Regions from separate parts of the Homo sapiens genome. Here region 1 is linked to region 2. The links are contacts of gene promoters, found by promoter capture Hi-C in blood cells and fetal thymus (Javierre and others, 2016). All regions are on one chromosome and are shown on one strand. The core of a region is centred on a gene start or on the middle of the fragment in contact, and the rest is flanking DNA. Distances in the headings are between cores, read along the strand shown.

Evidence for each region. Contacts are between HindIII fragments. The CHiCAGO score rates a contact against its expected background, and 5 or more counts as called.
Region 1: a contact is called between a fragment that was not itself captured here and the fragment with the promoter of LINC01592 in region 2, in 1 of 17 cell types (endothelial precursors). The highest score is 6.1, in endothelial precursors.

The regions. Positions count from the first base shown.
Region 1 is chr8:69,556,224-69,562,902 of GRCh38, forward strand. All of the region lies in intron 3 of SULF1 (sulfatase 1), which reads left to right. Among named protein-coding and RNA genes, the nearest start is that of SULF1, 67 kb to the left of the region's middle. The HindIII fragment of the contact is 1,274 bases long and covers 2,431-3,704 here.
Region 2 is chr8:69,099,120-69,106,111 of GRCh38, forward strand. It overlaps LINC01592 (long intergenic non-protein coding RNA 1592), which reads right to left and starts at 5,071. Exons shown (of 5, transcript NR_039986.1): 1 at 4,879-5,071. The HindIII fragment of the contact is 15,425 bases long and covers 1-6,992 here.

The sequences.
Region 1 (6,679 bases), core at 1,818-4,317, 460 kb after region 2:
AGACATTAGTGCTCAGCAAACACTTTGGTCCACTAAATTTTCCAGTGTCCTTGCCGTTGAGTGGGGCCACAAGACTAGTCTCATCCAATGAAATGTTAGAAGTGAACTGGGTCACTTCCAGGTTGAAGCCCTGAAAAGCTCCTGCACAATTCTTGAGTTTATTCTTCCCTTGCTTCCTGGTCTAGTTATTGCAGCAACAGGACAACACTGCCCCCATCAGTGTGCATCCATGCATGGCTGGGCAGAGCAGAGTTCTCTGCCATTCTATGTGTGACTTGCAGTATGAGTGACAAATATGCTTTTATCATATTTGGAATTTCTTTGTTATTGCAACAAACTACTTCTGCTGACTAATGCAATATCTCAAGGTACTTCAGTACAAATAAGCCATAGATATATAAAACCAAAGGCAAATTTAATGAAATTTAATGTAATAAACCTTATATTTTAAGACCTAGCTAAGATGCCCAAGACCACATTTTAGTTCTTTTTAACAATATCGCTGCCCTTCCCCCAAACCCACTTTATGTTTTTTCATCAACTTTTATTTTAAGTCCAGGGGTACATGTGCAGGATGTGTAGGTTTGTTACACAGGTAAACGTGTGTCATGGTGGCTTGCTGCACATGTCATCCCATTATCTAGGTATTAAGCCCAGCATCCATTAGCTATTCTTCCTGATGCTGTCCCTCCCCCAACCCTAAAGAACCCCCAACAGGCCCCAGCGTGTGCTGTTCCCCCACATGGGTCCATGTGTTCTCATCATTCACCTCCCACTTATAAGTGAGAACATGTGCTGTTTGGTTTTCTGTTCCTACGTTAGTTTGCTGAGGATAATGGCTTCCAAGTTCATCCATGTCCCTGCAAAGGACATGATCTTGTTCCTTTTTATCGCTGCATAGTATTTCATGCAAATCCACTTTACCTGAAGTTTCCAATGCCTCTTCTTTTGGAAATCCAGTTGTCTCTTCGTTCTCATTCTCTTGGATCTCACTGCCACCATTGAAACCATTGATCATTTGGACCACAATTGGTCACCAATGACCATTATTAGTCCCTTTAGACACTTTGTAACATATGCTTCAGGAATACTGAGTTCTTCTGGTGGTTTTCATAATATCTAGATCACTTTGTTTTCCTTTGTCTTGTTAATTTCATCTGAAAGAAGCTGGACAAATTTTAATTTGGACTTTATGCATTCTCTAAAATGCCCTTCGGAAGCTTGTTTTTATATGGTTTTAGTACCTGCTTTTATGAGGCAGAGTCTCAAAGGCACATTTCTCACTTCATCCTTCTCACTCTTCAACCCTCACTTCATCCTTCCCACTCTTCAACTCCATCTATTTTCTTCCTCCCTGAGAAGACAGAGAGAAAACCTAGAAAACTTAAGTTTATTTATTTCTATGTTTTGTAATGCAACAGATTATTGAAAAAATTCAATATATATATGAATTAAGCCAAAAAATAAAATCTGTCCCTCTCCCTCACCATACACCAGGGATAACCAGCACTCACCACTGTGTGAATAGATGAGCTTTGAAGATTCCTTCCAATTTCAAGATTCACAGTGTTGTGTGGCAGGAGGAGAGGAGAAAGGAAGATCTCATCATTTAGCCAAATATTTCCCCACAGGTGTTCCAGGTCATAGGCATACACTTTTCAGCTGTCATTGTTTGTTGGAAGAGGATTTATTATTGGAGGAGAATAAAAGTGTTACTACACCAGGAGGGGATGATTGTCTATCTTCTTTGCTTGGAGTTGTAGTAAATTAGACCAGGAAACAGGCTTTCTGGAGATTAACAGTAGGTGAACTTGCCAGCTGTGGGGTTGTTAAAAGAAGAAATTAGCTTTTTCGTGGATTCATGTATCTTATAAAGAAGATAGCACATCCTGAAGCCTTACTCTAAAGAAAAGAAGTAATCTCTGGGAGACTCAAAAGCCAAAATTAAGGGGAAAGGGCCATGTTAACTGATCCTAAGAAATGTATGTAGACAGCAATGTAGGATGGGAGGATGAGATGTGGGTACCAGCTTCTTGCTGGTGTAATTCTACTTCGCTTGCCTCTGACAATAATCTAAGCGTGTTCTGGCTAAATTCAGCTTCGCATAACTGCATAATCTCCCCTGCCCCTGCTGTTTCAACTGCTTATGGTGTCCCTTTTTTCTCTGGCCTAACTATAAAGTGCCATTGCTTTGTACTAGAAATAATTCTTCTGCCCCATCCAAGAGAGGTTTATTTCTGTGGCGAGTGGGTTGTTCTGACCCTGTCCCTTGCATACTTCAGATGCATGGGCATTCATTTGTAAAATTTTGTGTTATCCTTGGGTAATAAAAAACACAGAATTTTATCACTCATCAACAACTTTTATCTGAGACCAGGCATTTAGAACTGAGGACAGTTTCAAGGCTTTAAGGAAAAAAAGTAAATGAGAAGCTTGTGACTAGGGCCAGACCTACAGCCTTAAATGTGAGAGTCTGGGCTTAACTATAGAACAAGGTACACTCTAAGCCAGCAATTCTCAAACCCTTTGGTTGTCTCAGTATCCCTTTATATAATTAAAATTTATTGAAGACCCTTGCCCCAACAGTTTTTATGTGGATTATAATTATTAATACTTACAAGTGAAAACTGAGAAAATTTTCAAATATTTGATTCTTTTGAAAATAATAAATCTATTATATGTTAACCTAAATGATATATTTTATTAAAAAAAACTATACTTTCCAAACAAAAAAATTGTGAATAAATTATGAATTCATTTTACATTTTTGCAAATCTCTTTAATGTTTATCTGAAAAGAAGGAAGTCGAATTCTTATTTCTGCTTCTACATTCAGTCTGTTGAAATACACTGTTCTGGCTGAAGTACAGTAATAAAATCCAGAATCACATGAATAAGTAGTTGGAAAGTAGAAGCATTTTAATAGCTTTTTCAGATACTTATAGATATTTTCTGATACTACAACAAAACTTGGCAAGTGATAATTCATTAAAGGTTAGTTGTATTAAGAAATCTGAAGCCATATCAATGAACTTTTCATTCTGTTACAATAGAATCCATTGGTCATCTTGTACTTCAAATGCATTTTTTATTCATGTAAGATTTTGTAGCACTGTGATTATTTGGGAAATTTGGTTCACTGAACTATGCGAATATTCTAAATGTTGACTCATTTCATTTTACAATATCAAAAAATAACATTTGTTAACATCACTACCATTGTCATCAGAAAAAGTTTTACTTATTGGGAGTCTGCCAAGTGTAGTATACAAGTTTTCCAGAATTCTAATTTTAACTTGAAAGGTAGATTTCTATCATTGGTAACAAACACTGTCAATTGTTTCCCTTGAAATGATAGGCTCATTTCATTCATTATTTGAGAAAATGTCTGCCAAATATCCAAGTCTAAAAAATTCTTTTAAGTAAAAGTAGTGTTTCATTTTTTGTTTGTTTGTTTGTTTAAAGCCACTTTAGCTTGCAGCTCAGCCACCTTCATGCTTTTCCTCAAGACAGCCATCATACTCCCCCAGCCACCAAGGGACTTTGTGTGAACCTCTTATCTCAGAAAACACAACAGTGAAAAGAAAAGATGTGTACTCAAGGTCAAGGTTTAATAAAATTAGTGGTTTTACTGCTTCATCTTAAGTGAAGCTGGGTTTTTTTTGTTGTTGTTTTTGTTTGTTTGTTTGTTTTTACTATATGTGAAGCTTCTATCATTCATGCTAAGACAAAAGCGGAAAGCGGTTCTACCTACTATTGCTTTTATGCCATCTGTAGAAATGTCAGCGCAGTGAAGAAAGCAAATAATGTGTCAGTATTCTTATCAAAATAGTTCTGACCTCATGAACCTCTCAAAAGGGTCACAGGGTCCTCCAAACGTCCCAAACTATACTTTGGACATTGCTGCTGTGGACAAAAGCAAGGTGCTTTTGATATATTGGCCACCATCCCCTCTAGAGACCTAGCACCAAGCTGCCCAGCCAAAGTGGGGATTGGGGAAGACAGAGGTCCCCTTAAACCTTTGGGAGCAACAGGGCTTCAGTTTAGATTGGGGTATTGTGGAACAAACATATGTGACCTAAACTTCCTATCCAGTTGGCTGGACATCCTGCCAGTCTTTTTTTTTTTTCTTTTACATGTGACTTGAAACATTTAATGCCACTTTTATAGTTTGGCTTGACGGCCCTAAGCCACCCTAAACAAAGTCTTGTAAACTTTCCACACCAATTGACCATAACTACAACTGCTGTTTTCATTTTATGGCTTGGAGTAAAAGCAACTTATATCCTGGTCTTGACTGGTGAAGAATAGAACACTGTTCTTCAAACTCACTCTGTATGTATAAGAAAAACCTTTCTGCATTTCTTTCATTTTCTACTCTTTCTCAAGATAAATTGTTAGTCTCTAAGGACTCTTGTTGTCCCCCACAAAGTATCCAATTCAAACATTGCATCCTTGTCTCTTCTGTCAAGCTCCGCATTTTGTCTGTCAGGACTTTTTTCCCTTCTTTACTTCTTTTCCTTCTAGAGCTGGAAACCAGGCAGTTAAGAGGATGACAGGCTTTAAAAGGTCATTTTTGAATAAAGAATTGTCTGTGTGCAGTGTTTCTAGAGTGGCATGTTTTGTGTGTTTTAGTGAAGGAAGGTGAGATAGAGAGAGGACTCGTGCTGGCCAGACTAGTCAAAAAATTCAATTTTCTTGACCACTTAATGTATATCGTTGTAGGTATGAATTCCCTGAATTGAATGTTGGTGGTGGTGGGAAGAAGCTGACCAAAAGTTCCAAAGTTCTAGTGAGACAGGAGGAATAAACATTAAAGATCTGTTGCCCAGCAAGGTGACCACAGTTAATAACAATGAATTAATTGTATGTTTCAAAAATGCTAACAGAATAGATTCTTAAATGTTATCACTACAAAAAAAATGATAAGCATGTGAGGAGATAGACATGTTAATTAGCTTGATATAATCATTCCACAATGTACACATATATCAAAACATCAAATTGAACCCTGTAAATATATACAATTATCATTTGTCAATAAAAATAAAAATTTTAATTAAAAAAATAAGATACACTGTGGCAGAAAAAAATGTAGATCTTTTCTGCACCTTTCATTCACCAGAAAGGAAGTTCATTTCATAGGAAAAAACCACTCTCTCTTTTCCATATTAGGAAATGATTTTTGATGTAGTTTATACAAAGGTATCATTAAAGCTAATTTGCTTTTTCCTAAAGGAAGAAGTAAAGTAAATAAGATAAAGAAAAGAATAACTAGCAATGTTGATTGGGTTCCAGCAAAGGTTATCAGCATCTGAATTGTCAAGAACTTTCAGCTTCTTGTATTGCTGATTATTTAAACTCAAATGCCACTGTTTGTCTAACGCAGTGAGCCTGTAACTGTTCCTACCTGGTTGCTACCATCAGCAGGGGTTCATTTACAGTATAGTGGATGCACAAAGGCCCTCTTCACAAACTCTCCCTTCACACACCTCTGCAGGCCTTGAGAGGTGAGCAAAGTTTTTGCTACTTAAGGAACCAACCTCTAAGAAATTTCTGTATTTAACTATTTAGCCTGACCCATGCTTTGTGAGAACAAGCCATTGTTTATCATTTTATTACTTTAGTTTTCCTGTCCCTTCATGCCTGTATCAGGTTTCTCACGATTTAAAACAAATGCACAGAAACCAAACAGTCAGTGCAGAATAATTGCAGGCTTTCAGTGTTCAGCATGTACAGCAATCACTGTGGAATCACCCTGCGTTATTAAGAAGAAAGCACCAAATCTTACATTAGTGACTTCTACAGGGCTGCGTTATCAATTGGAGCTGTCTTGTTTGTTGCAGATAATGTAGTCAGGACTGCCTGGCTGCAGACACTAGAGTTTTGTTTAAAAACCGATTTCTTCTTGTCTCTTTCTCTCTCTTGCAGTATAATTACAGGCTGCAGAGTGAAAAGCATTAGAACTGTTTACAAAACAGCTCATAAAGTTTAAAATAATGGGGATACGTGTGTGTGTTTGTGTAAAACAAAATAATGTGTATGGTAGGGGTAAACAATATCCAGTCTTTCTTCTTTCACTACCCCCTGTCACCTTCCAGAATTAAGGGCATGAAGTTGAGAGATGGAGCCCTTTCCTCCTGCTATGCGATGCTTACACTTAATTAGTTATGCCTACTTATCCAATGCCAGTTTATTGTTGCAGATCAAAATACAGATTCTCAGGTGTATGGGGACTGAGTGGCTGATGAAACAGACTGCTATCTAATTAATTTTAGGGCAGCCTAAATTCCCATAAAGATGTTCCCTCATGACATATGAGAGGAAGATTTTATTTTTTTAATGAGCCCTTTGCTATCTTTCCAAGAGAAAAGCTTTCAGCAGGTTAGTGTTCCAAAGTGAGAGGGGCATTTTTCCAACCCTTTCAAAAGCCTCCTTCTGTGCAGCTTTGCAAAGATTTTGCAGCTCGCCCTTCTGGATTTTATTTATTTATTTTTTAATGCGGAAGGGTAGCCGCTGACTCCAGCCTCGGGGCCAATCAATCATTTTGCTTTGCAGGTTTAAGATCTGTGACAAAGCGAAACCCCTGTGCTATCTGTGCCTTACCAGTCTCACCAACAATAAGCCTGGTGACTGACAATCGAGAGGGGGCTCTGTCCACGTAGGTGCCGGCACAAGCT
Region 2 (6,992 bases), core at 3,821-6,320:
CAAGATGAAGGAAACTTCATTTCAGTATGACACGTGCTTCCTTGGTCAGTAAGGGAAATAAAAATAATGACTCATACACTGGTTCTTAAAACTTTCACCTGAAAATGAAACATGGTACTTCTGCTCACATTTCACTAGTCAAAGAAGGTTGTATGTCTCTACCAAATTCACAGGGGGTCAATGTGCCCAGAGCCAGTCACCATAATGATTTAAAATGATTTATACCATTAGCTTGCAAAAAGGAATGCAAACCTAAATCCTCTTTAGTAAGCATTATTTAGTCAAATCATTATTAATGAAATCCTATCATCTTAGCAAATACAAAATCTCTTACTATCCAGATTTATTCATTTCCAAGTTCAATTACCAAAGGATTAGAACTGAAAAATCAGTACGGGAAATCAAAAGAGACACTGCCCTAAACTGAAGACATTCTTTCTCCTACGTACTCTTCATGCAGATATCCCAGGTATAAGAATTTTTCTATATTTCCCTCTCTCTCTCTCTCTCTCTACCTCTTCCATTGCTATCTCTTCCCTCTTCTTCTCTCCCCTTGCATACATTATACATACATATGTGTGTGCATATATATATACATTTTTTCATTTTTTAATTGTTCAAAAGCTGGAGATATAATGCCCCATTACCTCTAAGTATTTTAGTATACATTTTTACACACACAAAAGCATGCTGTTATATAATTAAAGTATAATCATAAACATGAGGAAATCAACACCAATAAAATAATACCATCCAGTTCATAGGCCCCATTCAGATTGTGTGGATTGCATCAATAGTATTATTTATAAGCTCTTTCCCTTCTGGTTCAGGATCCAGTCATTTAGTTGTCGCATCCCTTTAACCTCGTAAATTGTAACAGTTCCTCAGGGTTTTATTTTTTCCCTGAATTTCATGATCTGAACATTTTTTGAGGCATATAGATGAGTTACTTTGTAGAACATTCCTCATTTGGGGTTTGTTTGATATTTTCTAGATTCAGGTTATGCATTTTTTGGCAGGAGCACCCCAGAAAATCCTGTATTCTTCTCATTATATTATTTCAATAGATGCATGTGATGTTGGTTTTATGCTTGGTTAGCCAAGTGTCTGCCAGATTTCTACAATTTAAGAATAATTAATGATGTTTTTGCATTTCAAATATTTTAATAAGTACTTAAGGAAAAGATACTTTATAACTATTTAATTATTCTACTACCTATCAAACACTCACAAGAGGGTTTGAGTATGTTTTCATAATTTTTGTCTGAATCAGTTGTTACCATGAGGTAGCCAAAGCCAGTCATTTTTAAAATCAATCATTTCTTATTAGTTGGCATACTACCTTCAGATAGAGTTTTTTCCTTCACTTATTCATTCTTTCACTCAGATCAGCATGTACTTACAGATTCCAGTTTTCCAATTGGTTATAATCCTTTACTATCATACTTTTTACAATGCTAATTTATTTCTAGATTTGGCTAATAAAAGCACCCCTAAGCTGGTTTCTTGGTATTTCCACATCATTCTTTAAGCAATTCCTATTTTTTTCACACAAAAAGGTGTTCAAGGTTCTTGTACATTTTTTTTTTTGCTCTGAATCTGAGATCAGTTGTTTCTCCAGGAGTCCCTGTTTCCTTTTGTGGCGAAATAATATTTACAAAACAACATCTGGCTTCTCAGTGTGCTCATTGCTACTGTGGTGTCATTGCTTTCTAGTCTGTCTCAGAGAATAGAGGATAGAACCAGGAAACACACTCCACACACACACACACACACACACACACACACACACACATATCCACATACACACTTACAAATTTACTCACCTGTGCATCTTTTTCTATATCCACTTATCTATATATATATATAATAAAAATTGTGAATTCACACCAATACCGTCAATTCCAGCTGAACCTCAAAGAGTCTATCCTGTTTCCTTCACCTCACTTCTTCTTATATATTGTACACCAGTGTCCATTGTTCCTGCCCCAGGTCCCTGAGGTGCCTGAAGACTGTGTTTTTATCATAAAACAATTTGCAAATTATAGTAAGAATTGAAATATTTCTTTCATGGTATGGTCTAACTTTATTCGCAACAAAAACAAGTAATATATTTATGGAATAACCACTGAGCTGGAGATGGCAGAAGACTTTCAGGTATAAATAACGATTTGTGTGCCTATAAATTTACAAAATAGCACAGGAAATAGTTTCTTAGTAAAATTTTTGGTCCTTTTGTTCCAGAATTACACATAATAAGGTCTACATTAAAATGTGGAGAATACATGAAGTTCTCTTATTAGCATTGAATTGATTTCACTAATTTTTTATATATGTATATATGTAAAAAAAAATCTACAATGGGACTTTTGATTCCAGCCAAGATGGAGTAGACTTCACTCCTCCCAGGTTCTCTCTTGAAAAATTATAAAAACTCCAGATATACTACAACAAACAAGTATAGAAAGACATTGAAAAGTGAAAAGACAATAGACTGCCTAGGGACCTCAGGACTTGAGGAGCAACACAGTGGTGAGTCACCTCAGTTTTCCTAATTGCCTCCTATATATCCTAGACAGAACACTGCAGAAGCCTTCAACTGCAAACTGCCAACAGACACTCAAAACAACACACAAGATTTCTAGAGTATTCTATTCCCTCTCGCCAAGGCGTAAGGAAAAGGTGACCTATCAACAGAAAACATTTTTGGCCCAACTACATCCAACCATTAACAGAAAATCCTTCTTCAATCCCCATGGTTTCAGTGGAAATGAGCAAGGAAGTAATCTTCCACTTTACCCCTCCACCCTGTGAAAACAAGCAGTGATGCACCCTTTCCTCCACTGGGTGATACCACTCTTTCTATGTAGGGACCTGAACCTCTGCCCCCACTCAACATGAAGACTGGAAAACGTGTTGCAAGTCAGGACTAGTTAACGTTCCTGGCGTCAGCAGACTCAGGAGGGAGCTGAACACCTGTGTGTATCCAGCAGCAAGAAGACTGAATGAAGAGGTACAGTACCATACTACTCCACTTTCCCCCACCATGGTGTCAGCAGGGGATGGTGGGAAGCTGAGCCTTCATCTTCATCAGGTATCAATAAGGCAGAACGAAGTGGTGGGAGGCAGGATCAGTTAGCACTCCACTTACCACTGGTGTGATCAGAAACTAGTGGTGAGCTAAATTTCTAACCCACTTCTGCAGCAAAAAAGGGGTAAAGCTAAGTATAAATATCCATCTGACTCTCACATTCACACTACACATCAACAGGGCAATTGCTTCAAAAAAAAAAAAAAAGGATAAATAGAATCCTTAGTTTCATAATCTAATACCCAAAATGTCCAGCATACAGTAAGAAACTCACAGGAAAATTACAACTTGAGTGAGAAAAGACAACAGACAGCAGCACCCAAGTGAATCAGATGTTGGAAATAAGTGATAAGGATTTTAAAGCAGTAATTACAAAAATATTTCATGTGGCAATGACAAATTCCCCTGACACAAATTTAAGAAACAAAAAGTCTGAGTGGACAAACAACAGTTATACAAAAAGAACCAAATGGAAATTATAGAACTAAAAAATATAACAATAATACAACCTGATGATTGGGTTTAATCACAGAATGGAGATGACAGATCGAATCAATGAATTTGAAAACAGATCTATAGAATTTTTCCACTCTTAACTATACAGAGAAAATAGACTGAGAAAAAATTAACAGAATATCAAGAACCTGTGAACAATACCAAAAGATCTAGCATGCATATTATCAAAGGCCCAGAAGGAGATTTAAAAAAAGAACATTATTGAAAAAGTATTCCATGAAATGATGACTGAAAAGTTCTCAAATTTGCAGAGTAGAGTTTTGCAGTCCTTGGGTTTTCAGAAATTAAGTATAGTCTACTTACTAAGGGCTTTGAAGGCTCTTGGTCTTGTTTAACCTAAATTTCTAGAAGATAAGCAGGGTAAGTAGGGAGATTGGTAGGAGGAAGATGGCGAGGATGGTAAGCCGGGGGAGAAGTAGTATGGGCTTTGTGTTTTCAAACTGTCACTTTATTTTTACATTATTGGATATGGGGAATAATGTGACTGAAGTAGAATAGATTAGGCATATATAAAAGTATAGGTTGAGTAGGGTTATAATATCTATAATAGTGGGAATGACAAGGTTGTTATTTTTTTGTAAATTCTTGAATGATAATTCATTTAGGTAGAAAACTGGTTAATGCTGGTAGGCACTTCAGGATTTACACTTCAGGAAATTTAGCTAACTTCAAATAGGACAAATTTAGACAAATATGCCAAGATACGTCACAATTAAATTTTCAAAATGTAAAAACAAAGAAAAACCTTGAAAGCACCCAGAGAGAAACAACATGTTACCTATTACAGAACAAAAGACAACAGATTTCTCATCTAAAACCATGGAGGCCAAAAGGAAGGGGTACAATATCTTTCAAGTACAAAAAGAGAAACATTGTCAGCTAAGACTTCTACATCAGGAGAAAATATCCTTCAGGAATGAGGAAAAATCAAAATATTCTAAGAAGAAAAACCAAGGTAATGTATTTCTAATACGCCTACCCTAAAATAGCTAATGTAAGTTCTTTGAACAGGCAGTAATGGCTATTGTGGACCATTGCTTCTTTTTGCCCTGTAGAAAGATTCATTGGAAGAATAATATACATACATTTTGTATTGAACAATGATGTTATTTGGAAATCCTGGCTAAGATTTTTTTGGGATCAATGCTGAACATTTCAAAGGATGTTACAACAAGCTGGAAAGTATGAGTTGTGGGTCTAGTCCTGGTTTCCCACTGCTGGTCTGTTACAGAAATGTGGTCCTACTGTGGAGCCTCAGCATAAATACTCACAGAAGGAGATCCAAAGACAGATGACAGAGCCTCTCAGTATTTGACTCCATCCTTGAGTTGATATGGCACCAGGTAGAAATCTTCTCTAATTTCCCCCAACAAGAGAAGGAATATTACTTAGAAATATATCTTGGAGTATTCTTCTAGACAGAACGTCAGTGATCTGAGATCTTCTGAAGCTCAGTCCAGGACTATTCTCCTGGCAAGAAAAGGAGAGTTTGATCCATCAATTTTGTTCAAAAAGTTCAGAGGTGAGGGTGGAGGAATAGTAGTTTGGGGTGTGGAGGAATAGTAGTTTGGGGTGTGGAGGTGTGATTAAGGGGAAAAAATAACTTTTCCATTATTCTTCTGTCTGAATATTCAAAGTCTGGAACACATCAAAAGCAGTTAAAAATAAAATGGATTGTTATACTTATCTGTCATCCCAATGCAGTTTCCATGTTATTTAAAATAGCAAGTTATCTTTGGGTGACATTAGCCTTAGTGATGTGAATTGCAGTTTTCTTTATGATGTCAGGGCTTAACTATTTAGTAAGTAGGAGGAAAACTATCTAACAGAATGCACCTTAATAGGAAGAAAATCAGTTGAACTGAATAAACTAACGTTTACATTCCCTCCGTCTCTATTTTTCATCTAATATCACCCCCATGCTATTAGAGCCTCAGCCAAAAATTGGGTTTTATTCTTTCTGGCCCCATGATTTCCTTTCAGTAAGAAATGTTCAGACTAAGACACATTAATAAGTGCAAATAAATTTAGCTAGCATTTGCTTGGCTGATTCTCAAAGAGGATCAAGAAAGGAAATGGAGAACACCGATGATAAACTATTCAACAGAGCATTTTGAAATTGGCAATGTTGCAAGAACAGTATTTTATGGTGGTTCAGATACATAATATGTTTTATAGAATGTTCAGAAAAAAATAAAATGATCAAACCGCACCCTTTTAGGTATAGATGGAATGGCAAGGGATTTATTTGATACACAGTAAATATTTGAAAATGATTTCAATTTATTTCAGGAAGAGTGCAGATAAGATTTGTTGAGGAAAAGATCTTTATAAGGCACATTAAAATATTTGGAGTTAGATTAGATTTCATTTGTGATGTAAGAAAAAAATACATAATATCTTTTTCATATTTAAAGGAGTTATTTAATATCAGTAGGTCGACGGCTGCTCTAGTGTCTCACAATTGTCAAACTTGTATTATGCATGGGGATTACAAGTGCTTTATTAAATGACTTGTTAATATTATCCTCCCTCAAAAAGGATTTGTAGTAAGAAACGACTGCCACTACAAGTGAACTAGAAGACACGAGTCCTGAAATTCTGCTACTCATTAGTACGACGAGGCTTGCATTAGAATAAGCACACTAAGAAAAAGTAACAAATTCCAATTTCATATTTCTCATCCATGTGGAAAAAATAAAATATAAGCCTGAATTTCAAATGTGTTTGGTGGAGGGATGTTTTAGAATGACCAGTATTTTTATTTGTTTTATTTTTAATTTGATATGGCTTTTCCACTTTGTTTTGTTCTGTTTAAATTCCTTAGGTCTTCTGCCACTCACAATACTAGAGTCCTAAATAAGCTAACTGACATGATTTCCAGGTTGCCCAAATAGGGAAATAGTGAGATGCTTAAATAATTCGATTAGTGTAGTTTATTTTCCATATCAAGTAACTTAGGTCAAGTTAAGGAAATTTCACAAGCATGAACTACTAGAATTTTAGAGGAAGTGAATGCAGTGAACCACCAAATCTCAAGGGTCTGTTTTAACCTCAGAAGTAATTCTATCTTGATAATTAATCAGTGACATAGTTAAGAATTCAAAAGAAAATAGCCTATTTTGCCAAGAGTGTCTGTAGATGTTTAAATTCAAATAAACAGAAATAGCAAATGACCCAAAGACAGTAGTCTTCAAGAGCTTCTTTGGAATTCACAAAAATATTTCCTTTAAACAGTGCTGTATTTAGACTAGCCATTTCACCTTGGAATATGAGTTAATGAAGAAATGATGAGTTTAATTGTTCTCCTGGTTTAGCTGAGTCCTTTGGATTTTATGAACTAGAAAGAAACAATGTGACGTGGTACTGGACCCAAAGGTTTACT